Regions from separate parts of the Homo sapiens genome. Here regions 1, 3, 4, 5, 6 and 7 are each linked to region 2. The links are contacts of gene promoters, found by promoter capture Hi-C in blood cells and fetal thymus (Javierre and others, 2016). All regions are on one chromosome and are shown on one strand. Each heading gives the region's core, a stretch centred on a gene start or on the middle of the fragment in contact. The rest is flanking DNA. Distances are from core to core; before and after follow the strand shown. Region 1 overlaps BRAF (B-Raf proto-oncogene, serine/threonine kinase). Region 2 holds the start of AGK (acylglycerol kinase). Region 3 holds the start of ADCK2 (aarF domain containing kinase 2). Region 4 overlaps BRAF (B-Raf proto-oncogene, serine/threonine kinase). Region 5 overlaps BRAF (B-Raf proto-oncogene, serine/threonine kinase). Region 6 overlaps BRAF (B-Raf proto-oncogene, serine/threonine kinase). Region 7 overlaps BRAF (B-Raf proto-oncogene, serine/threonine kinase).

Region 1 (3,971 bases), core at 287-2,786, 760 kb after region 2:
AGCACTTTGGGAGGCTGAGGTGGACGGATCACCTGAGGTCAGGAGTTCAAGACCAGCCTGGCCAACATGGTGAAACCCCGTCTCTACTAAAAATACAAAAATTAGCCAGGCATGGTGGTGCGTGCTTGTAGTCCCAGGTATTCAGGAGGCTGAGGCAGGAGGATCACTTGAACCCAAGAGGCAGAGGTTGCAATAAGCCAAGATCACGCCACTGCACTCCAGCCTGGGCGACAGAGCAACTGAGTCTCAAAAAAAAGGACAAATTTTAACAAAACCTTTCTATGAGCCACTTTGTTTCTTTCCTCTTCTAGTGTGCCCTTATCCATCCATATTTTTATGATTGTAACCAGTGTACTTTTAATTTTATATTTTTAAATTATACTATAAACATGTTTCATGATTCAAGCTTCATAATTATTTTGGTAGCTGCATAATACTTCATTAAATTGATACACCATAATTTTCTTAACCAAAATATGTCAAAATGCCTATAATAGAGAAATAATTATTTATAACTTTTTAGTATGATGGATAATGTTGCACTAAACATCTTTGTGCATATCACTTTTTCTTCTGAATTATTTCCTTAAGAAAAGTTCCCAGAAGTAGAATTACAGAATCAAAGGATATGAACATTTTTATCTCTCTTAATGTGCACCAGTATAATTTTTTTTAAGGATTGATGAAGCCATTTTTTAAAAATTTATTTATTTCCAAAGTTCAGGGGTACATGTGCAGGATGTGCAGGGTTGTTACGTAGGTCAACATGTGCCACAGCGGTTTGCCACACAGATTATCCCATTACCTCGGTATGAAGCACAGCATCCATTAGTTATTCTTTCTGTTGCTCTTCCTCCTTTTACCATCCACCCTCCAACAGGCCCCAGTATGTGTTGTTTCCCCCATGTGTCCACTTGTTCTTATCATTCAGCTCCCACTTATAAGTGAGAAAACACAGTATTTGGTTTTCTGCTCCTGCATTAGATTGTTGAGGATAATGGAAGCCATTGGTTTTGAATGGCCTGAAATGGACATCAACATTTGATTAGGACTAATAATTGTTTCATTATAGGTTTACATTGGCAAGTGCTTCAAAATTTAGATTGTATTATGTTCACTAGATAATTCCAAATTGTTTTGTGTAATAGTTATAAGATGTATTGTTTTAATTAATAAAATAATTCTTTTAACGTTAGTGGAAAATTCAGTGTTATCGCTACTCTCTGATTATATGCTTGCTTGGAATAAATATACATTACTATTTATTTGTAGGACTTGATTAGAGACCAAGGATTTCGTGGTGATGGAGGTAAGTAGTGATTTCAGGTTTTTTTAAAAACTCAAGGAAACTGCAATTGCTTTGCTGCTTATTTCCTTTATACTTGCCTCTTTCAAGTAACAGACACAGAGAAAAATGTGTAGAGAAACCCAAAATTTTTTTGTTTTTCTGTAGTGTTTGTCATTTACCTCTAATAAAATGTTAACTAGTTTATAACATGAGTAGAAAAGATGACTGGACATAAAAGGAAGTCTTTTTTTTTTTTTTTTTTTTTTTTGAGACGGAGTCTCGCTCTGTCGCCCAGGTTGGAGTGCAGTGGCGCGATCTCGGCTCACTGCAAGCTCCGCCTCCCGGGTTCACGCCATTCTCCTGCCTCAGCCTCCCGAGTAGCTGGGACTACAGGCGCCTGCTACCACGCCCGGCTAATTTTTTGTATTTTTAGTAGAGACGGGGTTTCACCGTGTTAGCCAGGATGGTCTCGATCTCCTGACCTCGTGATCCGCCCGCCTCGGCCTCCCAAAGTGCTGGGATTACAGGCGTGAGCCACCGCGCCCGGCCAAAAGGAAGTCTTAAAATGTATTATCTACAGTTTTAAAATTTCTTCCAGGATCAGACAAGATCGGACACGTTCAGGATGGTATGGCCGTAGACTACAGTTTTAAAATATCTTACCAAGGAAAGATCCTTAATTTTTATACCCGCTTTATTAATTTCTAACCATCTTGAAAGCTATTGTTGATAAATTTCCTTTGTGGGGCTCCACTGATACTTAAAGATTGACCTTAGAATCAGATAAAACTTAACTTTGCTAAATCATTCTGAAGAGGGGGTTTGTCAGACATTATCAACCACTTCCTTCAACTTTCTGGAAGTGTTTTAAATGTACATTTTATAGAACAGACCCATAATGGCAAAGCCCATTTGTCCTCTTCTTAGGTCAGTAAATACACAAATGAGAAACTGAATTGAGATTTCCAACTGAATTTTCATCTAGTATTCACTCTAGCACATAAGACAACATTGCTTAAGAAAATACTTTTTGTAAGCATTACCCTATATAATGTTTTATAAGAGGTGATATTTGAGACTGTCTTGAAGTGTTCTTCCAGGAGGTCCTTTACACTTACCTTCCCTGTTGTCTTCTGCCTAGTAAGGAAGACCTGTAATAACTGCTTATCATGCTTAGAGTTGACCTCTTCACTGTGACCTTCTTTATCTTCAAAATATCTAAGCCCAGACTCAACAATATTTTACATTGAGTAAACATTGTTATAAACCTTCTTTTGTTATGTTTCTGTATACCCATGAAGCAACCAAAATAATAATAAGCCTGCATTCTATACTCTGGACTTGGTATTGATGTTAGCACATAGTTACACAAGCTTTTTTTTTCCTGTTTGTTATTTCATGAACCTGCCAATTAATGTTGCTGCCAGTTTGACTTTCGTATGTCTTAATAGCTGTGGCTTTTGATAATTTTGCCTAATACATCCAGCATTTAAATGTTGCCATCATGTTAGCATCACAAAATTAACTTAGTCATAAACACAGCCTGCTTAGTACCTAAAAGCAAGTGGCATTTCTTGTCCTTTTCATGAGTCACTTTTTAAAAAATCATTGGGATTTTATGAAAATAAGCAGATTTTTGGTCCAGAATTATTTTATGAAACAGGCTTCAATTCATCTTGTTTATTCCCCATGACTTCTTTCATTTCTTCTGTGTGTCTGTCTTCCTGTGTTTGCCTGCCCCTCTCTTTCTCTTCTAACAGCCCCTTTGAACCAGCTGATGCGCTGTCTTCGGAAATACCAATCCCGGACTCCCAGTCCCCTCCTACATTCTGTCCCCAGTGAAATAGTGTTTGATTTTGAGCCTGGCCCAGTGTTCAGAGGTAGTTGGGCTCTTCTTTCTTGTTTTCACCCAAAGCAAACTAAATATAAAACTACAGATGCTGTTTGTGCCTCACCCTCACAGCGTGTGTTTGTAAGTGTGAAAGTTTTCAGTACTAAATTTCTGTTTGGCCTGGCTGGAATGCTTTGAATGTACGTCTCACACGTACTCACTGCCACAAGCTTTCTGTATGCTGTCTGTCATAAATTTTTAAAAGCAAGAAAATCCTGACCTGAGATTTCCATCTTGTTTTTTCGTTATTTTATTACTTCTTGGTCTTGATAATTTCTTAAACTTAGTGGGTGGGAATAAATAAGGTGGGTGGGGAAGAGCTTACTGGATTCCTTTGATTTTAATGCATTTAAGTGATTATTCTTGATGACTTAATATTTGTTAATTTTGTGGTTTTTAAGAAAATTAAAGTGTCAATGGAAACTTCTATTATGAGATTTTATTAGGCTTTTGGCCTTTTTTCAGATTCTGTAATACTAGCAGTGTTTTTTGGGTTTTTCTTTCCCCCAATATGGGATGTGTATATTTTTGTCAAAGGTAGGGAGCTGTTAAAAAAGACAAAAAAAAGATTTATAACATATTTTAGATATTTCAGTGTACTTCAGAAATTTGAGAATTTATCCTTTTAATTATGTCCTAATAGAAGAAAGTTTACAGTATAATTTCATTCTCCCATTTCATCTTGCCATGTTTTATTTAGTAGTTAAACTGATTTGTAAAAACTTAAGTCGGGCCAGGCGCGGTGGCTCACGCCTGTAATCCCAGCACTTTGGGAGGCCGAGGTGGATGGAT
Region 2 (3,953 bases), core at 78-2,577:
GAAGGTCAAACAATTCTTTTATGGCCTGCTTCAGGGGAGAAAAGTGGGAAGACACAAAGTGACTTTCCTGCTTCAGTTGTTTCCTCTAATGCCAACGAGTCATATTTTGCGGCAGTGTGTCCTGAATCTCATCAACAGCGGAGTAAAAATTGGAGTGTCTAGAACAGGGGTTCTCAACCTTTAGTGCAGAACTTGTTAAAAACACAGAATCCTGGGAACTGCCCCTTCCCGCAAGAGTCTCATTTGTTCTGGAATTAAGCTGTCATCTTCACTTGTTAACAAGTACTCCCATGTTGGTTGCAATGGAGGTCACCACTATACCAGACTTTGAGAAACAGTGGTTTAGAGATAAAGGATTGAAGACCAGGTGGGATTAGAAAAGACCTTGAACCCACACTAAGGACTTTGGCTATTATTTTGAAGACAATGAAAAACCTTTAATGGGCTTTAAGCAGGTGAGTGATATAATCATATTTGAACTGTTAAAAGACCACTTTATAGCAGAATGAAAAATGAACTGGAAGAAGCTAAAATTAAAGCTAAAGAGAACCATTAGGAAGTTATTGCCATAATCTGTAGGCTCCTAAAAGAACAAACCAAGATAAAGGATGGATTTGGAAAGCTTTAGAAAGTAGAAATTGGCAGCAGTTGGTGGTCCATTGACTGTAGTAAGTGAGAGAGGAGGAACCAAGCCAGGTTTTTGTGCTTGGGTGACTGGTTGAATAGTGATTTCAGTCATTTAGATTTGAGTGGTAGGTTTGTGGAGAAAAGTAGTGCGGTTTAGGAGATACTGAATTTGACACGCCTGTGGAGTATCCAGGTGGAAATGTTTTTCTTACTAGATAGTGAACCCCTCATGGGCAAGTTCGTCTATCCATCTGCAGCACCAGAACCTAGTAAAGCGCCAGAATGAATGAACCAACCAACCCATCAATGGATCTGATACTATTGGCCCCATTTTGCAAAGGGCTATGCTGAAGCCCAAGGGACGAAGTGAGGGGGGTCCACAAGTTAGCGACAGCTCTGGGACTCGAACCCAGGACAGCTGACTCCCGCCGTGACCACGGGATCCGCGCGAGGCCCTCCCCTGCCGCGCCGGCCAGGCCCGCACCCCCTACCCTCAAGCCGCGCCGCCGCCTGCACCCACGACCCCTGATGCTTGGGTCCCCGCGGCTCTCGGCCCAGCGCGACTCCAGAGGCTCCGCCCAGCGCCCCGGGCCCCCATCCCGACTCCCACCCCGCTCGCGCGCTCAGTCCCAGCGACCCGCACTGCGCTCCCCGCCTGGGCGCCGCTGCACTCACCACGGCTGGTCCAGCTCGCGGCTCTGCCTTTCCTGTGTGCTCCCTCCAGATTCCCCGGCTCGTTCAAGGGAAACCGCTGCCGCCGCCCTCGGGTTCCGCCGCGGGGCTGCGAGCGCGCGCGGGCCAGTTCGGGCCGGGGGCGGGAACCGGCTCGGATGCTCAGGGACGGTGGGGGTGGCAGGGCCCACCGGCTTGAGGCTGCCTTTCCCGGCGTTCCCTCGTTTATTGGCTCACTCTTCCTTTCATCCATCCATCCTTTGCGCAACAATATTTGATGGGAAGCCTGCCAAGGTAACACTGTTTTAGCACCTGGAACTAAGTCGGAAAATAAATTAACTAAATGAACAAGGCCATTGGAGATGGTGCTCCGTGCCACGAAGAAAATGAAACGAGGTGATGGAAGGCAGTGCGGGAAGGGGGAGAACTGTGTGAAATTAGGCGGCCTGCGCTAGGCCTTCTGAGTAAGGGGCCATTGGTCTGAGACCTGGATGTCAAGAAGGAGCAGCTGAAGCAAAGATCCAGGGGAGAGAGCCTGGAGAGGGAAGGGCCCGTGCAAAAGCTGAAAAGCCTGGGGCACTCTGGCGAGTTGCAGGCCAGTGTGGGTGAGACAGAGAGAGCTAAGGAGACAGGCCAAGCGAGGAAGCTGGAGAGGTGGAGACAGGCCACGGCGGCCAGGAGTTTGGACATGACATTAAACAGGGCGAGAAGACATTGCGGGGGTGCAATCAGGGGCTGGTGGGACTGGTTTCCATTTCACACAGCTCTCTGGCCACAGGTGCTTGATTGGATTCTAGAGAACAAGAGAGCAACGGAGAAGCTAGGCCAATGCCAACCTCCAGACAGTTTACATTCTGTACTCGCCCACCAGATTGGTGTGGGGACAAAGCCAGGTCCTTCTTCTTTCCAGCATTCAGTCTGCCAACTTTTTTTTTTTTTTAGACAGGGTCTCACTCTGTGGCTCAGGCGCTAGTGCAGTGGTGCAATCTCAGCTCACTGCAGCCTCTGCTTCCCGGGTTCAAGCAATTCTTGTGCCTCAGCCTCCCGAGTAACTGGGATTACAGGTGTGTGCCACCAGGCCCAGCTAAATTTTTTTGTATTTTTAGTAAAGACGGGGGTTTTGTCACGTTGGCCAGGCTGGTCTCGAACTCCTGACCTCAAGCGATCTGCCCGCCTTGGCCTCCCAAAGTGCTACGATTATAGGCATGAGCCATCGCACCCGGCCAGTCAACCAACATTTGAGTGTGCACTAGGCCCTGCATCAGGCACTGGGGGTATGCTCAGGTACAAGGCCCTTCATGGTTCCTGCCCCATGGAGCTTGCTATCTAGTCTGCACATTTCCTACGTGTAGACATGCATCCTACCTATGTCTCCCTAGGTGAATGCTTCAAAAAAAAAAGGCCGGGGCGGGGACCTTCAATGAGGCTATGGTGCAGTAAACATATTCCTTATGCCAGGGTGCACCAATCCATTGGGCCACACTGTTTAGTAGCAAGAAATTTCTAGCCCTCTCTCCTGAGTCTCCATCTGTAAACTAGGGGACTGAGAACATTACTATTAAAAAAAAACCCTTCTAGCTCTAAAATGTTGTCATAGGGTATGGAAGACCATTATTTTCAGTTCCTCTTTTCCAACTATCTAAAGCGTTTGTGTTTGGAAATAAGCTTCTGAACTGCTCACCTGCAGGCTAGAAAAATCTGAGACTTGATTTTGATGTTCCAAGGGTCAGACTCAGCGTATGCTTTAGGGCTTCAGCATGAAAGTGGTTCCCCAAATAAGAAAAGGTCAGCTTTGATGAAGGATGAAGAAGGATGGAAATATAGGAGATTAAGGGAATCTGAATACACACCTGCAGGCAGATGTGTAGGTTGGAGTTTTGGAGACCTATACCAATTCTACTCTCTTCCAAATACCATTTTACTAGGATGCATTCAGATTCCAGAATAATCAGGCACAAGCTCTAGCCAGCCCTGAATGGGTTCCTGCAGCCCAACAGAAACCTGACACTCTGACTTAGGCAGCCCCAAGAACTTCTGTTAGGCTGGGCGCAGTGGCTCAAGCCTGTAATCCCAGCACTTTGGGAGGCCAAGATGGGTGGATTGCCTAAGGTCAGGAGTTTGAGACCAGCCTGGCCAATATGGTGAAACTGTCTCTACTAAAAGTACAAAAATTAGCCAAGCGTGGTGGCAGGTGTCTGTAATCCCAGCTACATGGGAGGCTGAGACAAGAGAATTGCTTGAACCTGGGAGGCGGAGGTTACAGTGAGCCGATATCGCGCCATTGCGCTCTAGCCTGGGCAAGAAGAGCAAAACTACCTCTCAAAAAACAAAACAAAACAAAACAAAACTCTTAGTCAAGGATTAACACAAGTTCCCTCTCATAGTCAAAGAGAGTCCTGGAGAGCTTCCTTTGCTGATCCGTGTTAAGGATCTACGATGCCAGAGAAGACTCAGGTCTGACACTCTGGCCCTTAGAGGCCTGGAACAGTGCCTCGGGCACAGTCCCTGAGGCTCAATGGCACATTCATGCCACAGAGAGGACCAAAGACAGATCCAAATGCACACAGCCAGAGAGAAGGGCTTGGCTTATGTACTTCCTTTTCCATGTTCTTTGTTCACTATCACTAACAGCTGAGCGAGGTTCCCAAGGAGCT
Region 3 (3,956 bases), core at 633-3,132, 880 kb after region 2:
TTACTAAGTAGCAGCTAATGGCAAGAACTATGTTAGGTGCTATTTACAGCTGAGGGGAGGAGAACTCACCTGTTGGACCATCAGCTTCTCAAATTCCTCCACAATCTCAGGCAAGCTAAGCCACTTGATGCCTGGCAAAACTCCCAGGACTCGGCTGCCAATCTTCATCAGCAGCAGGTCCATATGCACCTGAGCGAGCAGGCCAGGGTGCAACACCTGTCAGAAAGAGGAACCGTGAGACAGGAGAAACCTGCTGGACACATTTTACCCAGCCAGGGCTGGGTCCCACCATCCAAGCAAGAGCCAGGTGGCTTCTTATCAAAGAAAAGAGGATGTGGTCCCGACACCCAAGCAGTTAGTTCACTCCAGACTCAGTTCATTTTCCTCTATCAGACTATTCACACCGCCACTTCAAGCCAATAAATGAAACAGCTTGCATGAAATAAGCACTCAGATATTGGTCAGGCAAATAGAAATAAACGTGGGGGCGATTTGCATGGCGGTTGTTTCTGATCTGGGATAGCTCAGTGGGTAGGTGAGCTGTGAGCTCTCACAACACTTACTTTCACTGCCACGGAGATGAGGTTGGTGGCCTCAGGTTGGTGGCCAGGGACCTGAGCCCGAGACACCCCTGCATTTGATCCAACCAGGTCAGCTTTAGGGAGGAGCAGCCTTTCTAGAAACGACTGGTCTGCGAGATTTTCTGGAGGTTTCCGGCCATTTCCAAGGTATCCAAAGAGCTCTCTCAGCCCACCGACTGCCCCAGTATGTGAGAAGGGCGGCAGACAGGAGGCCCTGCCAAGTCTCTGGACGCTGTCAGTCTCCAGGAAGGCAGTGTTGGCGTATGCTTTGTACACCTGGGCCACGCAGCCTGAGCCCACAGGTTCCCGGTTCTCAAAAGAGAGGATGCTCCCCCAGTCATCCCCAAAAGCCTGCCGAAGGAAGCGCTCAGTGTGAGTCCACGGGTGGGGCGTCACTCGGACATGCAGCTTGGAAAATTGGGCACAGAAAGCCTCCGAAAACAGATCGCGCCGGGTGCTGGCCCACTGGCCCAGTTTGATGTAGGTTGGGCCTGAGGTCTCGGTGGCTTTCAGAAGCAGGTGGAGCCAGAGGGTGGAGACGCTGGGAGCCAGGTAGGTGAGGGGGTAGAGGAGTAGGAGGGGGAAGAATTTCACCAACAGAGCGCCGGCGCGAAGCCAGAGGCGGAGATGCAGGAAGACGCCGCCCAGAGGTCCCGCTCGGGGGAGGCTCTCCGCGGGCCCCGCGCCAGCCGCCCCGCTGCAGCGGACCCTTCGCCGACTCAGAACGTCAGGGGCCCCCTCACCCACGTCCCCGCACAGGGAGACGACCTTGGGCAAAGTGCCCAGCAGAAGCCAGCAGAGCCTGGCATCGCGAGGGCACTCGGAGGGCCTCAGGAGGCTGAGTCCCTGTCTGAGCTCGAAGCACCTCAGGTGCGACAGGCAAACCCTGACGGAGACGCGCCAGGGCGCCACCATCCTCCCGAGGCCCGCGGCCCAGGCGGCCCGCCCTCCACTTCAGAGGCGCCCGCTCAGGCGAGGCTGCGGTGAAGCCGAAGCCCGGCCCTGACCCCGCGGACGGAGCTGCCCATCTGGGCCGGATCCGCGCCCCGCTCCCTCCAGCACCTCGCCGGGCCTCAGGCCGGAGGCCCGCGCCCCGCCCGACACCCGCCGCGCCGCGCCGCGCCGCGCGGAAGGGGCTGTCAGACGGCACCAACTGCGGAACGGGAGGAGCCAGGACCCACGCGAAGCCAGGCCCCGGGCGCCCGCGACCTGAGCGAGGGGGCCGCGCGGGCGGAGGCAGGGGCCGGGCAGCCGCAGGGTCACCGTGCGCCCAGGGGCCAGTATGAGATCGCTGGGGTGGCGGGCACCAGCCCAGGGCGCGGGCGCAGGCGGGGGCCGGGAGGGCGGGGCGGAGCGTGGAGGGCGGGCGGAGCGTCGGGGGCGGAGCGTCGGGGGCGGGCGGGAGTGCAGGTGCAGGGAACCGAGGCACCGAGGGCTGTGGTGGAGCGGAGGGGCGCGGGAGATGGATGGGACGGGTTCGGCCACTAGGTTGAAACCGCCATTGCAAAATTATAACAGATAATGAAAGAGATCTGACCTAACCAACTCCATCTTGCTTCTAACCTCCAAGCTGTCCTTGTTCATTCCTGGGCGTTGGCTGAACTAACTTTGGGAGGAACTTAGTTTATACTTTATAGTTTAAAACAAAGATGATAACAGCCCTTTCTGAAAACAAACCTCCTTCTTGCCTGGGGAATAGACTGTCTTTGTAGGACTAACAAATTAACCAAAAGATTAGAAAGTATGATTTAGGAGTCAGGCAGCAAGGCTACAGTATTCTGACCCTCCCTAAACTGCTAATAAGATCAGTGCTCAAGATATTTTGCAGACCCTGCACTTGATGGATCAACTGACACCTACCAGATCGATAAACCAGGTCATCTGATCTTAGGCCCCCACTCCGGAACTAACTCAGCACAAGAGGACAGCTTCAGTTCCCTAAGATTTCACCTCCGACCCAACCAATCAGCACTCTCGACTCACTGGCCTTCCCCCACCCACCAAGTTGTCCTTAAAAACTCTGCCCAGTGTCCCGCGCAGCCTGATCTGTGTGAATTACTCCTTCTCTATTGCAATGCCCCTGTCTTGATAAATCGGCTCTGTCTAGGCAGCAGGCAAGGTGAACCCGCTGGGCTGTTACAGGGTGGCCGGTGGGGGCAGAGGGCTGGGTGCTGGGCGGTGAGGGTCGGAGGGAGCAGAGGGTCGGTGGCAGAGGCCCGGGCAGCCAGGGTCCCTTGACCCGCCCCTTAAAGAGGACGGCGACCCCAGGCCAAGACCACCCTGCCCTTGAGTCCTGGGTCCTGGGTAGCAAAACGCAAAGGCACCCTCTATGTCCCCCTCCCCATGTCTATCTTCCCACTGACTTCTTCGTATCTTTCATTATTCCAAAGAGCATGGCTGAAAAGTATGAAGGCAGGTTCTGAACACAGGTCCGCTTTTCAGCGGGGGTTGGGTAGGGGGGTGGTGTTGGATGGGGGTAACTGGGCTGCAGGAGTAGGAACTGGATGCTGTGTCCTCGGCTGCATTAATTCGGCAATTGTGTTGGACCTTGGGGAAAGGCTCCGGAAAGGCCATATTCATTCATTCAATAATACTCACTGAGCCCAATAAATATTTCTTGAGCCCAATCTCATATTTGTCGAGGCTCAATAATATGTACTGATCAAGCTAGGTCATGTGCTGGACCCTGGGAAAGCGGACACAAATATCCTGCCCTTACTGGCTGAATACGTAATGAGGGGGACCCAACATGGGAACATATAAATGTGCAATTTCAATTTTTTTTAAAAAAACACCCATGATAAGAAATCAAAATGTGCAGTTTCAAAGTGTGGCAAAGCCATGCAAGAAATGACCGGGCACGGTGGCTCACACCTGTAATCCCAGCACTTTGGGAGGCCGAGGCGGGGGGATCACTTGAGGTCAGGCATTCGAGACCAGCCTGGCCAATGTGGTAAAATCCCATCTCTACTAAAAATACAAAAATTAGCTGGGTGTGATGGTGCATGCCTGTAGTCCCAGATTATTCAGGAGGCTGAGGCAGGAGAATGGCTTGAACCCAGGAGGCAGAGGTTGCAGTGAGCCAGGATGGCACCACTGCACTCCAGCCTGGGCGACAGAGGGAGACTCTGTCAAAAAAAAAAAAAAAAAAAAGCCATGAAAAAAAAAAGATTACCAGAGGCACACATAGCATGCAACTACCCTGGAGAGGAAGGGAAGGCCAGAGAAAGCCTTAGAGGAGGGGGCCAAATAAAGCCCTAAACATAGGAAGGAGTTTGGTATGAGGTTTGGCAGGTGGGGATGTTGTATAACCTCGAAGAACCAAAGGGAAGTCAGGTGGCCCTGTGACCAAGGGGAGAGGGGTGGAGCTTGGAA
Region 4 (4,224 bases), core at 461-2,960, 690 kb after region 2:
GGTTACAGTGAGAGAAAGTTATGACCAGGAGTTGTACCAAAACGCAGGAAACATGATATGTATATTGTTATGGTGCATAAAAATACTTACAATTAAAAGTCCTGAACCTACACTACATCTATTGTTTCACATATTTTCCTTCAATTTAAATCCTGCTCCAAATACAGCTCCTTTCCGAAAATTCAGTTTTATGTGACAGAAATTTGATCTGTTTCACTGAAAACCCATTTGAATAGTAATTGTGAGCAATTGTTGAATTTGTAAATGTTACGTAAATTTAGTGGATGACTTTGTGGACAGTTTGACGTTATGGACAGTTATTCTTGATACTGTTTCCCCTCCTTTCCCCTGCCATCCCTGAAACTTTAGGGCTTAATCTGCTTTTAATTAGCCAGAAAAAAATGTTTGATCCTCTTATTCAGTTTTAGATTATTTTAGATGATTTCTAAGTTAAACTCTAAGTTAGAATAGTTTCTGCTTATTGATTTCATGAATATCACTTCTCTATTTCTACTTCTCACCTTCTGCCAGGCCAAAGGAATTGTGGAACTATGATCATCAAACTCCTAAATCATCAGCCTTTTCCTTAAAAGACTTAAAAGGGTTCTATCTATGTAGACACTTGTCTGGCTCCTGATTACAGTTTTACCATTCTCAAGTGATACTATTTGTTTCATCACAGTCCACATAATTCAGGGTCAAGATACTATTATGAAATGACTGTAAAAATTACTAATACCTTTGGCTCTCTAATTTTTCTCTCTTTTCATCATATGGGCCTGACAAAATGCCCGCTACCTGCCTGCACTTAGGCAATTGAATGTAGTGCTTTAAATGTATACCAAAACCCTCAACAGGGCATCAACAATGTCTGGCAGTGCAGCTGCTTCTTCACTTTCCCAATTAAAAATGCGTTTGCTGGCTGGGCGCAGTGGCTCATGTGTGTAATCCCAGCACTTTGGGAGGCCGAGGCAGGTGGATCACTTGAGGCCAGGAGTTCAAGACCAGGCTGGCCAACATGGTGAAACCCCGTTTCTACTAAAAATACAAAAATTAGCTGGGTGTGGTGGCGTGTGCCTGTAATCTCAGCTACTTGGGAGGCTGAGGCAGGAGAATCGTTTGAGCCCAGGACGCGGAGTCTGCGGTGAACCAACATCGCACTACTGCTCTCTGGCCTGGGCAACAGAATGAGACTCTGTCTCAGAAAAAAAAAAAAAAATTCATTTCCTCCACTCATTGCAAACCTCTCACAGCTCCCACTCCTATCTGTGGAATTCACTTCAAACTTTACTGAGAAATTAAATGCAGCTCTTGTCATCTTTTCACCACCAATTCTACAAACTTGTCTGCATTGGTCCTCTTGTTCTGTCTTCCTTTCATTTGTTATCGAAGACCATTCCCGACAGTCTGATTTCTCTACTTGTGACTCAGATTTCATCTTTCCTGCATCTCTGTCTTCCATATCATTCTTCTCCCCTCGATTAAATTCCCTTTAGCCACAAACATGCTCTATTATCTCCCAGCCCCAATACATCTGCAAATGTATGTAAATAGGAATGACCAAATATGTACAGATATACAATTCCTACCTTTCCTAATGTCTTCTAGCCACTATTATGTGTTCCTATTCTTATCTAATAAATTTTCTTAACTGAATATTTTTTCCTTCTACCTCAGTGTCTGTTTCTTTCTTTTCAGCCATTTTTGGTTTCTCTTGTAAATGTTTATGATCCCCAGGGCTGAGCCTTCTTGGCCTATACTCTCTTGTAGGTCTGCCTCCCAGTATGCTAGTGACACCCAAATATGTCTTCAGCCTCATCTCTCCTCCAGGGTTCTAAACTTGCATAACCAGCTGCCTTCTTGATCATTTAGTAAGCCTCTCCTGTTGGTGACATAATGCTTGATTTCTCTCCCTCATGGCATCACTGTCCACCCGTTGCACACATCAGAATTTCAGAATCAGCCTTAATTCTTAGTTTTTTCTCACTCTTCCTCCATGTCTAATCCAGTAGCCCTATCTCCACTGTTTTCACCTTGGTCCAAGCAATCATCTCTTGCTTAACACAACCATAGTTTCAACTAGTCTTCCTCCCTGCATTCACTCTTGGCCCAAGCAATCATCTCTTGCTTAACTATGGTTGCTTAACACAATCATAGTTTCAACTAGTCTTCCTCCCTGCATTCATTCTTGGCGCACCGTAATCCATTCTTCACTAGAGTGATAATTAGAGGTACTATAATATATACTGCTCTAGAGTTATATTGTCTAGAATTTACTAGCTGAGTGGCCTTGAGCAATATACTTAACACTTATGCCACAATGTGCTCGTCTATAAAATGGGATGGTATATTTATCTGTTCTCTGATTGCTATAAAGGAATACCTGAGACTGGGTAGTTTATAAAGAAAAGAGGTTTAATTGGCTCACGGTTCTGCAGGCTCTACAGAAAGCATGATACTGGCATCTGCTCACCTTCTGGGGAGGCCTCAGGAAACTTACAGTCATGGCAGAAGGCAAAGCAGGAGCAGGTGCGTCTTACATGGCAGGAGCAAGGGGTAGGGGGAGGTGCTACACACTTGTAAACAATCAGATCTTTTGAGAACTCACTCATCAAAAGGACAGCATCAAGAGGATGGTGCTAAACCATTCATGAAAGATCCACCCCCATGATCTAGTCACCTCCAACCAGGCCCCACCTCCAACATTGGGGATTACAATTTGACATGAGATTGGGTGGGGACACAGATTCAAACCATATCAGAAGTAAATTGTTAGTAAAATATAAATCAGATTATGTCACACATACCTGTTTTTGAAACTTTAGATTCTCATTGCTCTTAGAATAAAATTAAAACTCTACTTACCGTGGCTTTCAGGATCCTTCATAACCTGGCATATTGCCTAATTTTTCTGATACCCATCTTGTTTCTACTCTCCCCTTGCTTACCATATAGCCACAGTCACTATCTTTAACTTTCTAGTTGGAAACATGGCTTTTTGTGGGGTGTATTTCCTTTTACTTTCTATTGTTTTGGGACCAACTTATTTACGTCAGTTTTGTGTTTGTTTTGTTATATGTAAAAATAGTGCCTTAAAAAATCAGTTTTTTTTTTTAACCTGGTGAATCATTTGTTTTATCTTTATAAATGCTGGGACGAGAGGCCTACTCCTTTTTTCCAATTTTGTGAGAGATTGGTAAAATTCTTAGAAGTGGAATTGCTAGGTCAAAAGATAGAAATGTTTTCAGATGGATGATTCCTATTGAAGTAAATTTTTTGAGAACTTAACATGTCCAAAAAGGTTTTCATTTGCCCTCATGCTTGACTGGTAGTTTGCCTGGATGTAAAATTCCAGATTCACAGTCATTTTTGCCCAGACAGTGAAAACATTATTCTACTATCTTTTAAAAAATAACAGTTTTATTGAGGCATAATTCATATACCATACTATGTGCAATTTAGTGGTTTTTAATATATTCATAGAGTTGTATAGCCATCACCGCAGTACATTGTAGAATATTTTTATCACTCAAAAATGAAACCCCTGGATTTATTAGCAGTCATTCTCTGTTCCCACCAATTTGCCCACCCCCCAGCCTTAAGTCAACAAGTAATCTACTTTCCGTCTTCATTGTCTTTTAATGTTGCTGATGAAAAGTCTGATGCCAAATTAATTCTAGTTATAGGAAGCTTTTAGAGTTTTCCGTTTTGAATTTCTGGAATTTAATTATGTAAACTAGGATTTATGTAGATATGAGTCTTTTAATTCATCCGCCTTAGCCTCACTGAGCCCTTTTACTCAGACCATTGGTGTTTTTAACTCCAAATATTTTTAGCATAATCTTTATTTATTCTATTTTCTTCATTTAGAACTCTTACTAAATGTATTTTGAACTTCCCAAACATATTCTTTATATCTCTTCAACTTTTTACTTGTATCACCCATTTCTTTCTTTCTTGCTCTCTCTTTTTTAACCTCTCTACCTTCTGGGACATTTCTTTGTGTTACATATCACTACTATGATCTTTATCAATACTACTTCTGTTATTTACCCCTTCTCCTCAAGTGTTTTCTTAGTAATAATATTTCAGTTTTCTCCTTGCCCATTTATTCTGTTTGTTCATTGTGATCTTTTTCTTTCCTCCCATTGGATATTCATAGTGTCTTGTGATTCTTGTTTATTGAATAAGGACTAAATTGACAAAAACTTTGCAGTTACATAG
Region 5 (4,069 bases), core at 731-3,230, 810 kb after region 2:
GAGAAGGGTGAGGGAGGGCATTATAAGCAGAGTAGGAGCAGCGGCAATAAAAAAGTTAAAAGTAGCTTTGTATTGGGATAGTCTTCTCTACAAATCCTGTTACTTACTTAACTGTATTATCTCGGGCAAGTTACTTAATTTATTTGAGCATTGGATTCCTTATCTGTAAAACAGAGTCAACACCAACCTTGTAGAATTCTTTTTTGAGTATTAGATGATATCTAGAATCCAAGTGTCCCAACGTTTTTTGGCCTTTCAGGGCCACCTTTTCCACTGATAGCCAAGTAAGAATACCTGAATTGCTGTCCATAATATATGACTATAGGAACTCCAGATCCTTTCTCTCAACTTTGAAGACCCCTGTTTGAAGTGCTTTACATTCTCCTGGCTGTTGCTTGTCACTTGTTGCTCCAACATATTATTCCAGGTTGCTCCCAAAATTCTAAGACTGCTGTCTTCCATTAAAATGATGATGTTATGATGGTGTAGCTTCAGTAGGGGGCATTGTGAAAGAAAACTGTAATCCCCTCAATTCAGTAACTCTTTCCAAGGTTCATCCTTTAACCTCTACTACATAGAGGCCACATTGCAATCAAAGCTTTACTAATGCCTGGCAGTTAAACAAGGGTCATTACAGCACCAAACAGGAAATAACACAATGTATCAAGCTTGGCGGTTTCTAAAATTCATCAGCTCTGCCCTGTAGCAGGGATCTTTTATGGGCTTTCTCCACTTTAGCCTCTACTCTCCCCCTGTTGCACCTATTCCCTCTAAGACCAAAAGCCCTTCTCTCAGGCTGTCCTCCCTGAGTCCCAAGACTCCTAACATCTATCCCTGCCTGCCCTCAAAAGAGGCAAAATATTAGGAAATTAAGAAATTAGAAAAAATTATAAATCTCTGAATCCAGGGAAGACAAGCCTTTTTATTTCGTTAAACAGATTTTAGCTCCTAATGGCTTCCCCTTCTCTCCTCTGGCGGAGGCTCTGGTTTGTATAACCAAGTGGCCCATTAGCGTTTCCACAATAAAAGGGCTTAAGATGCAGATGCCAAAACGACTGCTAAAATGTTAACCTTTTTGGTTTTCCCTACACATATATAGAGGACTTAACACAACGTCCAACAACAAGAAGTGCTGAATAAATTTTTTTTTTTTTTAAAGTAAAGAAGAGGCACTGTCAGATCTGTTTTAGATGGTTACCCTGTGAGTGGGAAAATGGACTGGATAAAGAGAGACCAAAAGCAGGGGAGCAATTAGAGAACCTTTGCCACAGTCCAAGGATCATGAAGATTTGAGCTTGCACTCCTTTTGTGGGTTTCCCACCATCTATGATGTGGCATTGGTTTTTTAAAACTTTTTATTGAGGTGTAATACATACATCGTAAGCTGTAAATGTACAGCTTATTGTGTTTTCAATGAGTGTGAAGTATATTTTTCAACTTATCTACAAGGTTGAATTATTTCCCTTTTTTTTCTCTCTCCAGATAATTTTTATGGTGGGACGAGGATACCTGTCTCCAGATCTCAGTAAGGTACGGAGTAACTGTCCAAAAGCCATGAAGAGATTAATGGCAGAGTGCCTCAAAAAGAAAAGAGATGAGAGACCACTCTTTCCCCAAGTAAGTAAAAGCTTCATGCTATCCAAAAGAACAGACTAACATTCATAGACAGATTTCTGAGCACTTTTTTGGGCACACAGTGTGTATTTCATGAGTTTGGATTCTATGTGCAGACTCCAGACAAGAAAACACATTAAGATGGCTTCATGAGGGTTGAGCAGTGGCACACCTAGAAATTTTGGGTCCTAATACAAAATATTCAGAAAGACTTTGCATTTGTCCATCAGTTCTCAGACTTCTCAGTCTTTGAACTCTTTTACACATTTAAAAATTATCGAAGACCCCCCCCCCCACAAAGAGCTTTTGTTTATATAAGTTTTAATTCCTTATTAGAAATTAAAACTATTTTTTAAAATATTAATGAATTAAACATAGTAAACCAATATGTTAAATAATATTTAGAAAAAAACAGTTCTATTATCTAAGAGAAAAAAATTAGTGAGGAGTTGTATTGTTTTACTTTTTTTGCAAATCCCTTTGCAAAAAGAAGACAGCTGGATTCTCCGCTTTTGCACTCACATTGCAATATCTCACATCATGTCACCCCTAAAAACTCTACTTAACGCTTGTAAAATAATGACAGTAAAAAAGGCAAATGATATCTTATTGTTATTACAAAAATAGTTTTGACCTCGTGGATCCCCTGGTGGTCCACGGACCACATTTTGTGAACCACTGCTTTATTTCTTCTTGGTGGTAAACAGATTCAAGCTTTCCTTTAATACTGGGTCTTTTTGAGGGGCATTTCTGCCTGATGCAGAAAAAGGAAAAGGCAGTAAGGCATTTGTCAGCTCAGCCTGCCTTTACCTAATTCTTGATAACTCACTGCTTTTTTTTTTTTTTTTCCATATTGGAAGGATAAAGCCTTAAGTTAACAAATTTCAAAAAGAACTGTAACTAAGGCCAGGTGTCGTGGCTTACAAATCTCAACACTTTGGGAGGCCAAGGCAGGCAGATCAGTTGAGGTCAGGAGTTCGAGACCAGCCTGGCCAACATGGTGAAAACCGTCTCTACTAAAAATACAAAAATTAGCTGGGCATAGTGGCAGGAGCCTGTAATCCCAGCCACTCAGGAGGCTGAGACATGAGAATCGCTTGAACCCAGGAGGTGGAGATTGTAATGAGCTGAGATGACACCACTGCATTCCAGCCAGGGCAACAGAATGAGACTCTGTTTAAAACAAAACAAAACAAAAATATCTAAATACCTCAACTAGCTTACAGAGTTTAGCTGTAGTAGATATTATAATATAAATGCAATGTTTTCTGATACTTAGGGAGCTCCTGATAGCACTGGATAAATATGCCTTGATGAATCAGTACAGTTTCAAGTGGGAAGTGCTATTTCCCATAGTAACCCTGCTACCATAATTACTGGAGTGTTCATGTATGAACTCTTAGGCCTTTGAATGCCCAGTCCTAGCTGAGTAACTCAGACAGAAGTCAATGTTACAGGAATTAGATTCACTCATCCTTTATTTTTAAATCTAAAAAATGTTATTCTTCTCTAAAGAATGAAAGAAGATAAAATTGATGGTTTTAACAAGTCTGTCAGGGTGTTGCCTAAGAAAAGAAAGGGAAAGCTAAGTGGTTGGCTGGGTAGATATAAGTTTCATTTATCAGGTTTCAAAGTTACTGTTCCTTTGAGGAAGAGTTTTTATTTTTTCTTTTTATTTTTTTATTTGTTTCTCTAAGTCAGGAAACCTCTGGGTTGAGACTGTCCTGGTGAGAGACAAGTGCTGCTGAGCAGCTTCAGCATGACCCTGTCCCATGTTCTCTTTTCACGTCATGGTGCTCGGGTTCTTACTTAGAATGTTTATTGACATTAATAATGCAAAGTACATCCTTAGGCCCACTTTTTAAATGATATTAAAAGGGGCAAAATGCTTAGCTCCATACTTCTAAATATAACATTTCATTAATTACATGGTTTCAAAAACTGAAGTGCATATGTGAACTTTCCAGATTATTGGAGGCTATCCCTTTAAAGTGTTATTTTGAAATTTTTGTTACAGGATATCTTTTCACACCATACTGTTATATGCCACATAAATTTTAGATGGCTGAAGATCTATATGTTTTATAAAATATGAAATCATTTTTATAGTTTTGAGGTAGGAAAGGCTTTCTTAATAGACAAAATTCAGAAGGAAAAAATTAGCAGATGTGAGTACATTAAAAATTTTTAAACTTCTATATAGAAAAATAACATTGAAAGATAAAAAGAATAATTGTAGCATATATAACAAAAAGTAAATGTTTATAATATACAAAGGACTCCTCCAAATCAATAAGTAACAAACAATAGAAAATGGGCAAAGGGAATATGAACAGGTGATTCACATAATAAATACAAATGGTGAATGAACTTAGGAAAAGGTGTAAATATTTCCATGGCAGTCAGTAAAATGCAAAGACACAACAGTGAAATATATTTTAATTTCGCCTCTCAG
Region 6 (4,033 bases), core at 1,189-3,688, 750 kb after region 2:
TAAACATTCATAATTACTATATATGTATAAAGTTCTATAGATGCACAGAGATTCCTAACCTGGCTTTTGAGGAGTTAGGAAGGTTTCTCAGAGACAGAAATATCTAAGCTTAGGCCTGATGGATGAGGAAGTAAGTATCAAGTAAAGAGTACCCTAAACAGAGGGAAGAGCAAGAAAGCATGTTACCTTTCAAAGTTTTGAAAGAAGTTCAGAATGGATGATACAAGGTTGAAGAGTAGGTTGTTAACAGTATTGTGGGTAGAATAAGAGTTGTGGGTAGAATAAGCAGAGTCCAGCTCATGAAAATCCTTGTTAGCCATATTAAAGATTTGGATTTTTCTGTAAAATAATTAGAAATGTAATAGTTGTAAGCTTGGGGAGAAATGTGATTAGATTTGTGTGTTAGAATGATTGCTCTGAGTGCCATATAGAGGCAAGATCAAAAACCTATGTTCTGCTTAGAAAGGAAAAGTGTTCTTGGCTGTCTTGGGTTTTGCTTGGCTATTCAAGGAGGGCTGCTTATGCCTCATGGTTTCATATTATAAAAGCAATCCCTTCAGTATTTCTCTATATCCCAAGAGTCCTTGGGAACTGGGAAGTGGGAAAACAAGATTTGAAACTTTTATATCCAAACCTTCTCCTTTTTCTGCAGACACTCAGTGTCTTCCTTCACACAGCCCCACACCTTACAAATTAATGCATGCAAATTACCTTGACTGTGCCTCTCACTAATTTGCCATACATATTTATGTATACTCAGATACTAGATTAAGTGTAAGCTGTGACCCAAAAGAAAGATATATCTTCCTGTGCTCATCTTTATTGACAAAGGTATACTTACAGATACAGGCATATATTGCTTAAAATTTATGATCAAATGCATATCCACATGTTTTCTTTCCTTCAGCTGTTTTGGTCACCTACCTACTTGGTTTGGTGAATAATGGCCACATAAAAAATTTTAAAGATTTTAAAATTTCTTGTATATCCAGAGACAAATGGAAAAAGAACACAATTAGAAATAGACATTTACCTGTTTTATATCCCCTAGAAAGTGATACATAGGAAAAAAGGTGAAGAAAATAAGAGTCACTTTTAAAACTAAATGTCCTCAAAAAGCCAGAATGTATTATATATCAGGATGTAATTTTCTTGAAATATTTTCAATAACTTTCTATTCTTAATGGAACAGAATGTGTAAATAAATGTGTATTGAAAATGGACTTTTGGCTGGGCACAGTGGCTCATGCCTCTAATCCCTTGAGAGGCCGAGGCAGGCAGATCACTTGAGCCCAAGAGTTCAAGACCAGCCTGGGTAACATGACAAAACCTCATCTCTCCAAAAAAATACAAAAAGTAGGTGGGCATGGTGGTGTGCACCAATAGCCTTGGCTATTCAGCCTGAGGTGGGAGGATAACTTGAGCCTGGGAGGCAGACTTTGCAGTGAGTCATGATTGTGCCACCATACTCCAGCCTGGGCAACAGAGCAAGACCCTATCAAAAAAAAAAGAAAAGAAAAAGAAAAGTAGACTTTTGATGTTGAAATCTATTTAATGTATCATAAAAAAATTTACATGTAGCAGAATAGATTAGGAAGTTCTAATTCATGTTGTATATAGTCAGGGTAAGTAGTGTTGTATGAATACAGTTATATATGGAGTCATAATGTAAAATATCATTATTTGTGATTAAAACTCTGAAAAACTGGGCACAGTGGCTCACGCCTGTAATCCCAGCACTTTGGGAGGCTAAGGTGGGCAGCTCACGAGGTCAGGAGTTCAAGACCAGCCTGGCCAGCCTGGTAAAATCCTGTCTCATTTGAAAATCTTGTGAGTTGTAACTGGTTTTATACAAAATATTGAAGAGTGGAAATTGTATAATTACAATCATGTAATTAAAAGTATTAACCACCCCCCCCAAAAAAAAAACCTGTCTCTACTAAAAATACAAAAATTAGCCAGGTGTGATGGTGTGCGCCTATAGTCCTAGCTGCTCGGGAGGCTGAGGCAGGAAAATCGCTTGAATCCAGGAGGTGGAGGTTGTAGTGAGCCGAGATCGTGCCACTGCACTCCGGCCTGGGTGACAGTGAGACTCTGTCTCAAAAAAAAAATCTCTGAAAAACTGAAATGAATTAAGAATATAGAGGCCGAGTGTGGTGGCTCATGTCTGTAACACTCTGGGAAGACGAGGCAGGCGGATCACTTGAGGTCAGGAGTTTGAGACCAGCCTGGCCAACATGGTGAAACTCCATCTCCACCAAAAAATACAAACGTTAGCTAGGCATGGTGGTGCATGCCTGTAGTCCCCAGCTACTTGGGAGGCTGAGGCAGGAGAATCACTTGAAACCAGGAGGCAGAGGTTGCAGTGGGCCGAGATCCTGCCACTGTACTCCAACCTGGGCGACAGAGCGAGACTCCATCTCAAGAATACAGAGCAAAGAACAAATAATGAAATAGAAGTCACCCATGCTCTCGCCACTCTGAAGTAGCCACTCACATTTTGATATTTATTCTTATATTTTCTTATTATTATATACACTAAATAAATATATTTTAAGCAATTTCTGGCTTTAGTGGGATAGATTCTTCCTAGTGCAGTTCTGTTACGTGACTCATGTTCTACATCATTTGCCTTTGACATGGAATTCTTAACATGTTGCCTTCTAAGTTTCACCTAGAGAAGTGTTCACAAATAAGTTTATGTGGCCCAAACATTCTAATCCTCTAAGAAATTGATCATTTGTTAGAAAAAATAGATCTTATTGTCTTTTAGGTGATTTTTCTGTTTCTTATTTTTTTTAGTAAGATTAGGAAGAGCTGTTTCAATTTTCATATGATTACTTACTAGTTTTATAAATAATTGTTTTTACATTTTTATCCAAAGTTAACCATTATGTTTTTGGACCATAGATCAGGGGTTCTGATTCTGTCAGCTATTTTGTTTTTGTTTTTGTTTTAGCTATTATGTAGATTGTATTTATAGTCTCTCTCCCTCCCACCCCCAATTCCACTCTGGAGGAATTCACTGTTAATTTTTAATGGTTTCTGTTTTAAGCTCTTTTGGTGATTATTTTCATCTTACTAAATACAGTTACACATTGCCTGATGACTGGGATATGTTCTGAGAAATGCATCAATGGTGATTTTGTTATGTGCTTACACAAGCCTACATGGTATAGCCTAACTATACAACTAGGCTATATGGTAGAGCCTATTGCTTCTAAGCTAATAACCTGCACGGAATGTTACTGAACTGAATGCTGTAGGTAACCTTAACACAGTGGCAAGTTTGTGTATCTAAACGTAGAAAAGGTACAGTAAAAATACAGTATAAAAGATCAAAAATGGTCTACCTGTGTAGGATACCTAATATGAACAGAGCTTTTAGGACTGGAAATTGCTCTGGTGAGTGAGTGGTGAGTGAATGTGAAGGCGTAGGACATTACTATTTGTTACTGTAGACTTTTATGATAAACATTGTACACTTAGGCTACAGTACAGTTTTAAAATTTTTCTTTTTAAAAAGTTTATAAAGTAAAAAATTTACATTAAACTAAGGTTTAATTTTTTTTAACTTTTTGACTCTTGAAATAACAGTTTCAAAAGTTTAAAAACATTATATAGCTATACAAAAATATTTTATGTGCTTATTCTATAAACTTCTATTTTAAAAATTTTTAATTTTTCTTTTTTACTTTTTAAACTTTTCTGTTAAAAATGAAGACACAAGCTGCACACGGTGGCTCATGTTTGTAATCCCAGCACTTGAGGAGGCCTAGGCAGACGCATCACCTGAGGTCAGGAGTTCAAGACCAGCCTGGTCAACATGGTGAAACCCTTCCTCTAATAAAAAATAGGAAAATTAGCCAGGCCTAGTGGCATGTGCCTGTGGTCCCAGCTGCTCGGGAGGCTGAAGCAGGAGAATCACTTGAACCAGGAGGTGGAGGTTGCAGTGAGCCGAGATCGTGCCACAGCACTCCAGCCTGGGCGACAGAGCCAGACTCTGTCTCAAAAAAAAAAAAAAAAAAAAAAA
Region 7 (4,260 bases), core at 1,532-4,031, 630 kb after region 2:
TCACAATTGCATTAGAATTACAATTTTATTATGTTCTGTTTTCAAGATCTCTGATCGTCAGTCTTAAACTGTTTAATTATAATAATGTATTGACTAGGGAATATTCTGGGATATAATCTCCTTTATAATGAGGTCCACTGTATTAAAATACATCTTTGCAAGCCACACCAGGTTGGATTGCATCATAACCCTGAAAAGTGGTATTCTCATTAATGCAGGTGCTTGTGCAGTTTTGGCTATTGCTGTTAATACTTATACAGATATATTCACAGGTGCCCTTGTGGCAAAAATCATAAAATAGTTGTTTGTCTTTGGTATTTCTAGTGTTCACTTTCTATATTCTTTTCTCTCTCCTTATTTACTGAACTCCCTTCTTTAGGCATCCACTCACTCCTTTTTCTGTTTAGAATATTATCTGTCAGTCATTTTATATGTTGGCCATTAAAGGAATAAACTGTCAGTAAACAGCTAAGAAAGGAATGTTGGACTGGGTGCTTGAATCCTTGAATGTAGTAAATGTGAGTGCAAACTTGATTTAATTGTACATGTATTTGGATAATAGGCCAGAAAAATTACATTAGGGTAACAGGCTAGAACAGTCTGACTTTTCTTGTTTTTCTATCCCTTGCTTTCTTGATTAGAATGAATAGGAGGTGGGTCTGGATATAGCAGCTGGAAACCTGTGTTCCATGAGTGATGGGGAAGAGAGGGAGGGAATAGGTTCCTCTGATTTTTGGCATTTTCTAAGACCTGATGCCCACCTTGTCAGAGAATGCGATGACTACTTTTGTGTTCTTCCTTTTCCCTTTTTCTCCCAATTATAAAATTGTTTTCTCTTTCAGAACTGCAGAAGTGCATTTTGTTTCTTTGACACTTTGATGTTGTTAATTTAGCTGAATACCTAGTGAACATTTTGTGTCATAATCCCCTTGTTTTATGAAATCCAGTATGGTCTAGTCACCTTACATTTCTGCCTCATATTGTCCTTAAGCCTTTTTTTGTCAGTAGCTCTTACTAGATTTTGTCTTCATCAGAAGTTAAAGTGTTTTAAGTCCTTTACTCATTCTGTTTCTCTATTTTAACTTACATTGGTTATTCTGTAAAGTCAGATGTGGCAGTAGGGCTGGTCGTGGTGGCTCACACCTGTAGTCCCAGCTACTTGGGAAGCTGAGATGGGAGCATCACTTGAGCCCTGAAGTTCGAGGCTGCAGTGAGCCATGATCGCACCACTGCACTCTAGCCTGGCAACAGAGTGAGACCCTGCCTCAAAACAAACAAACAAACAAACAAAAAAAAAACAAAAAAACTTGCTTGTAGAACTTCTGAATTCAAAATAGGTGGGCCTATTTGGGAGCTTTTCTGTTTTTAAGGTGTCAAGTACTGCTTTTTAAAATCATAAGGTTATGGATAACTTCATGTTAGTGTAAGAAGAAAAATATAGCCTCATTTGTTCCATTTCTTTCTTAAATTTTTTGTTTTCATTGCCATGTTTTTATTTTTCGATTTCAATTTTTCCAGCCTAAATCACTAACATACTTAATTAGCATGGTAATCAGAAGATACTCTTTAATACAGTCTCCACCCTAACATTAAGCAATTATTTTTCCCCCCTACCCTCTGAGATTATTTTTGTGTCCATGTTTTCTCTTGGGCTTAAAAAAAAAAACTATTATTCTAATTCCTTCCTGTATCAAGACTATGCATATAGAGGGAACTCAATGCCCAGTAACTTCTTTTTCTGGGCCCTGGTGATGTAGAATATAAAAATTGCTTTGAACTCAATTAACTTTATATCTTCTGGAAGCTCTGTAACATCGGATAAAGCGTCGTTTTCATTCTTGTAATGTAGCTGCAGTTCCTGACAGCACGTTTGGGACAAATGTACTGTGGGACGGTGGTTTTCAAAGTACGCCAGAGCTCTAGGAGAATTTTTCGAAAACATTCTATCATTGTAAATAATAATTTTTTTTTTTTTTTTTTTTGAGACGGAGTCTCGCTCTGTCTCGCAGACTGGAGTGCAGTGGCGCGATCTCAGCTCACTGCAAGCTCTGCCTCCCGGGTTCACGCCTTTCTGCCTTTCTCCTGCCTCAGCCTCCCCAGTAGCTGGGACTACAGGCGCCTGCCACCACGCCCAGCTAATTTTTTGTATTTTTAGTAGAGACGGGGTTTCACCGTGTTGGCCAGGATGGTCTCAATCTCCTGACCTCGTGATCTGCCCGCCTCAGCCTCCCAAAGTGCTGGGATTACAGGCGTGAGCCACCACACCTGGCCAGAATAAAAATTCCAAATTGCACTAATGCATATGTGAAACTGTTTTTGTCTGTTTTGTAGTTTTAAAATCTTCATCTATAATAGTACCTGGCACATAGGTACTAAAATATTTGGTGAAAGAATTAGTGAATAAAACCTTACTGGATATGAGGTGATCTGATTTTCTGTAACATTCTATTCTTTTTTTCTGCCGGTCACAAAATCACCTTATGAAATTGACAGCCAAATTGGCTGCAACAGGCAGTTTGAAAAACACTGTTTTGGGGTTTCAAGGACCTTCTTCAGAGGTTACCCCAGGGCTCTGTTTAGTGCCTCTATACCAGGGGCCCCCAACCCCTGGGCCACAGCCTCGTATCTACCAGTCCGTGACCTGTTAGGAACCTGACTACACCGCAGGAGGTGAGTGGCAGGCAAGTGAGCATTACCGCCAAAGCTCCACCTCCTGTCAGATCAGCGGCAGGAGCGTGAACCCTATCAGAAACTGTGCATGTGAGGGATCTAGATTGTGTGCTTCTTGTGAGAATCTAATGCCTGATGATCTGAGGTGGAACAATTTCATCCTGAAACCCCCTCTACCCCTGTCCATGGAAAAATTGTCTTCCATGAAATTGGTCACTGGTCCCAAAAAGGTTGGGGAGTGCTGCCCTATACCATAACTATTGAAGTTCTTCATTTATCTGCTTTACATGTTAGTTTCCTTGAAAAAAGGGTTTTATGGCTGTAAAAATTTTAGAGCTACTATGTATGGAAGAGAGGTTTGTGCTGGCATAAATCTTCTCAGGTATCATCTGTGTAGAAAATTTCAACAACTTGTGTCTTAAGGCAGAGGTCAGCAATCTTAAGGGTCAGATGGCAAATATTTTAGGCATTGTGGGACATACAGTTCCTCTCACAATTCCTCAACAATACTGTAGTAGCTCAGAAGTAGCTAATAGACAATATTTAAACAAATGAGTTTGACTCTGTTCCAGTAGTCATTTTCAGGACACTGAAATTTGAATTTCATATCATTTTCATGTGTCATGAAAATCTTCTTTTGATTTTTTTTCTACCACTTAAACATGTAAAAAGTATTCTTAGCTTGTGAGCTATACAAAAGCAGATAGTGGGCCAGTTCATGGGCTGAACTGTTCTGACTCCTGGTCTAAGGGAGACTATATATGTTATATTTGAGGTTCTCAAAGTAAGATGTAGGTTAGAGGTCTATAGAAAGTTCATAATTGCTTTTGTAAAAACTAGATTGATTTATTTGAGAGGGAGAGAGAGGTGGAGTTTCACTGTATTGCCCAGGCTGGACTTGAACTCTGGGCTCAAGCAATCTTCCAGCCTCAGCCTCCCAAGTAGCTAGGACTACAGGCATGCACCAAGCCCAGCTCCTAGTTCCTCTTTGCACTCAGTTTCATCTTCTACCCTCAGCCCCTGGCAAACACTGGTCTGATCTCTGTGCCCTTTCCAGAAAGTCATATAAATGGAGTCATATAAAAGTCATATCAGTGGGGCCGGGCATGGTGGCTCACACCTGTAATTTCAGCACTTTGGGAGGCTGAGGAGGGCAGATCACCTGAGGTCAGGAGTTTGAGACTGGCCTGGCCAACATGGTGAAACCCCCTCTCTACTAAAAATACAAAAATTAGCCGAGCATGGTGGTGGGCACCTGCAATCCCAGCTACCTGGGAGGCTGAGGCAGGAGAAACACTTGAACCCGGGAGAGGGAGGTTGTAGTGAGCCGAGATCGCGTCATTGCACTCCAGCAATTGTGAAGCAGTGGTTAAGGTTCATTCATTATTTTACATATGGATGTCCAGTTGTTTCACATTTATCAAATTTCTTTTGAATCACCTTGGCACTTTTATTGAAATCAATTGCTTATGTTTGTGAGTTTTGGATTCTACTGTTTTATTGATCTGTGTGTGTTTTCTTAGGCTAATACCCCACTACCTTAGTTATGATAGCTTTATAGTTAAATTTAAAATCAGGTAGGTCCAGTTG

The links. Contacts are between HindIII fragments. The CHiCAGO score rates a contact against its expected background, and 5 or more counts as called.
Region 1: a fragment that was not itself captured here is called in contact with the fragment with the promoter of AGK in region 2 in 4 of 17 cell types (M2 macrophages, endothelial precursors, M0 macrophages and 1 more); the score reaches 8.0 in M2 macrophages.
Region 3: the fragment with the promoter of ADCK2 here is called in contact with the fragment with the promoter of AGK in region 2 in 3 of 17 cell types (endothelial precursors, M0 macrophages and naive CD8 T cells); the score reaches 7.1 in endothelial precursors.
Region 4: a contact is called between a fragment that was not itself captured here and the fragment with the promoter of AGK in region 2, in 1 of 17 cell types (M2 macrophages). The highest score is 5.0, in M2 macrophages.
Region 5: a contact is called between a fragment that was not itself captured here and the fragment with the promoter of AGK in region 2, in 1 of 17 cell types (endothelial precursors). The highest score is 5.3, in endothelial precursors.
Region 6: a contact is called between a fragment that was not itself captured here and the fragment with the promoter of AGK in region 2, in 2 of 17 cell types (total CD4 T cells and M2 macrophages). The highest score is 5.7, in total CD4 T cells.
Region 7: a fragment that was not itself captured here is called in contact with the fragment with the promoter of AGK in region 2 in 1 of 17 cell types (M2 macrophages); the score reaches 5.3 in M2 macrophages.

The regions. Positions count from the first base shown.
Region 1 is chr7:140,784,886-140,788,856 of GRCh38, reverse strand. It overlaps BRAF (B-Raf proto-oncogene, serine/threonine kinase), which reads left to right. Exons shown (of 18, transcript NM_004333.6): 9 at 1,273-1,309. Among named protein-coding and RNA genes, the nearest start is that of NDUFB2-AS1, 90 kb to the right of the region's middle. The HindIII fragment of the contact is 2,255 bases long and covers 409-2,663 here.
Region 2 is chr7:141,548,784-141,552,736 of GRCh38, reverse strand. AGK (acylglycerol kinase) reads right to left here and starts at 1,327. Exons shown (of 16, transcript NM_018238.4): 1 at 1,303-1,327. It overlaps AGK-DT (AGK divergent transcript), which reads left to right and starts at 1,393. Exons shown (of 6, transcript NR_183408.1): 1 at 1,393-1,593. RefSeq lists silencers at 1,083-1,262, 1,443-1,532. The HindIII fragment of the contact is 2,342 bases long and covers 625-2,966 here.
Region 3 is chr7:140,670,871-140,674,826 of GRCh38, reverse strand. It overlaps ADCK2 (aarF domain containing kinase 2), which reads right to left and starts at 1,882. Exons shown (of 8, transcript NM_052853.4): 1 at 564-1,882; 2 at 70-216. The coding sequence starts at 1,496. RefSeq lists a silencer at 1,488-1,947. The HindIII fragment of the contact is 25,667 bases long and covers 1-3,956 here.
Region 4 is chr7:140,862,076-140,866,299 of GRCh38, reverse strand. All of the region lies in intron 1 of BRAF (B-Raf proto-oncogene, serine/threonine kinase), which reads left to right. Among named protein-coding and RNA genes, the nearest start is that of BRAF, 61 kb to the left of the region's middle. RefSeq lists a silencer at 485-685. The HindIII fragment of the contact is 3,965 bases long and covers 1-3,692 here.
Region 5 is chr7:140,737,360-140,741,428 of GRCh38, reverse strand. BRAF (B-Raf proto-oncogene, serine/threonine kinase) reads left to right here. Exons shown (of 18, transcript NM_004333.6): 17 at 1,483-1,617. Among named protein-coding and RNA genes, the nearest start is that of NDUFB2-AS1, 42 kb to the right of the region's middle. The HindIII fragment of the contact is 700 bases long and covers 1,631-2,330 here.
Region 6 is chr7:140,802,293-140,806,325 of GRCh38, reverse strand. The region is part of intron 5 of BRAF (B-Raf proto-oncogene, serine/threonine kinase); the gene reads left to right. Among named protein-coding and RNA genes, the nearest start is that of NDUFB2-AS1, 110 kb to the right of the region's middle. The HindIII fragment of the contact is 4,127 bases long and covers 375-4,033 here.
Region 7 is chr7:140,916,869-140,921,128 of GRCh38, reverse strand. All of the region lies in intron 1 of BRAF (B-Raf proto-oncogene, serine/threonine kinase), which reads left to right. Among named protein-coding and RNA genes, the nearest start is that of BRAF, 5.9 kb to the left of the region's middle. The HindIII fragment of the contact is 8,965 bases long and covers 1-4,260 here.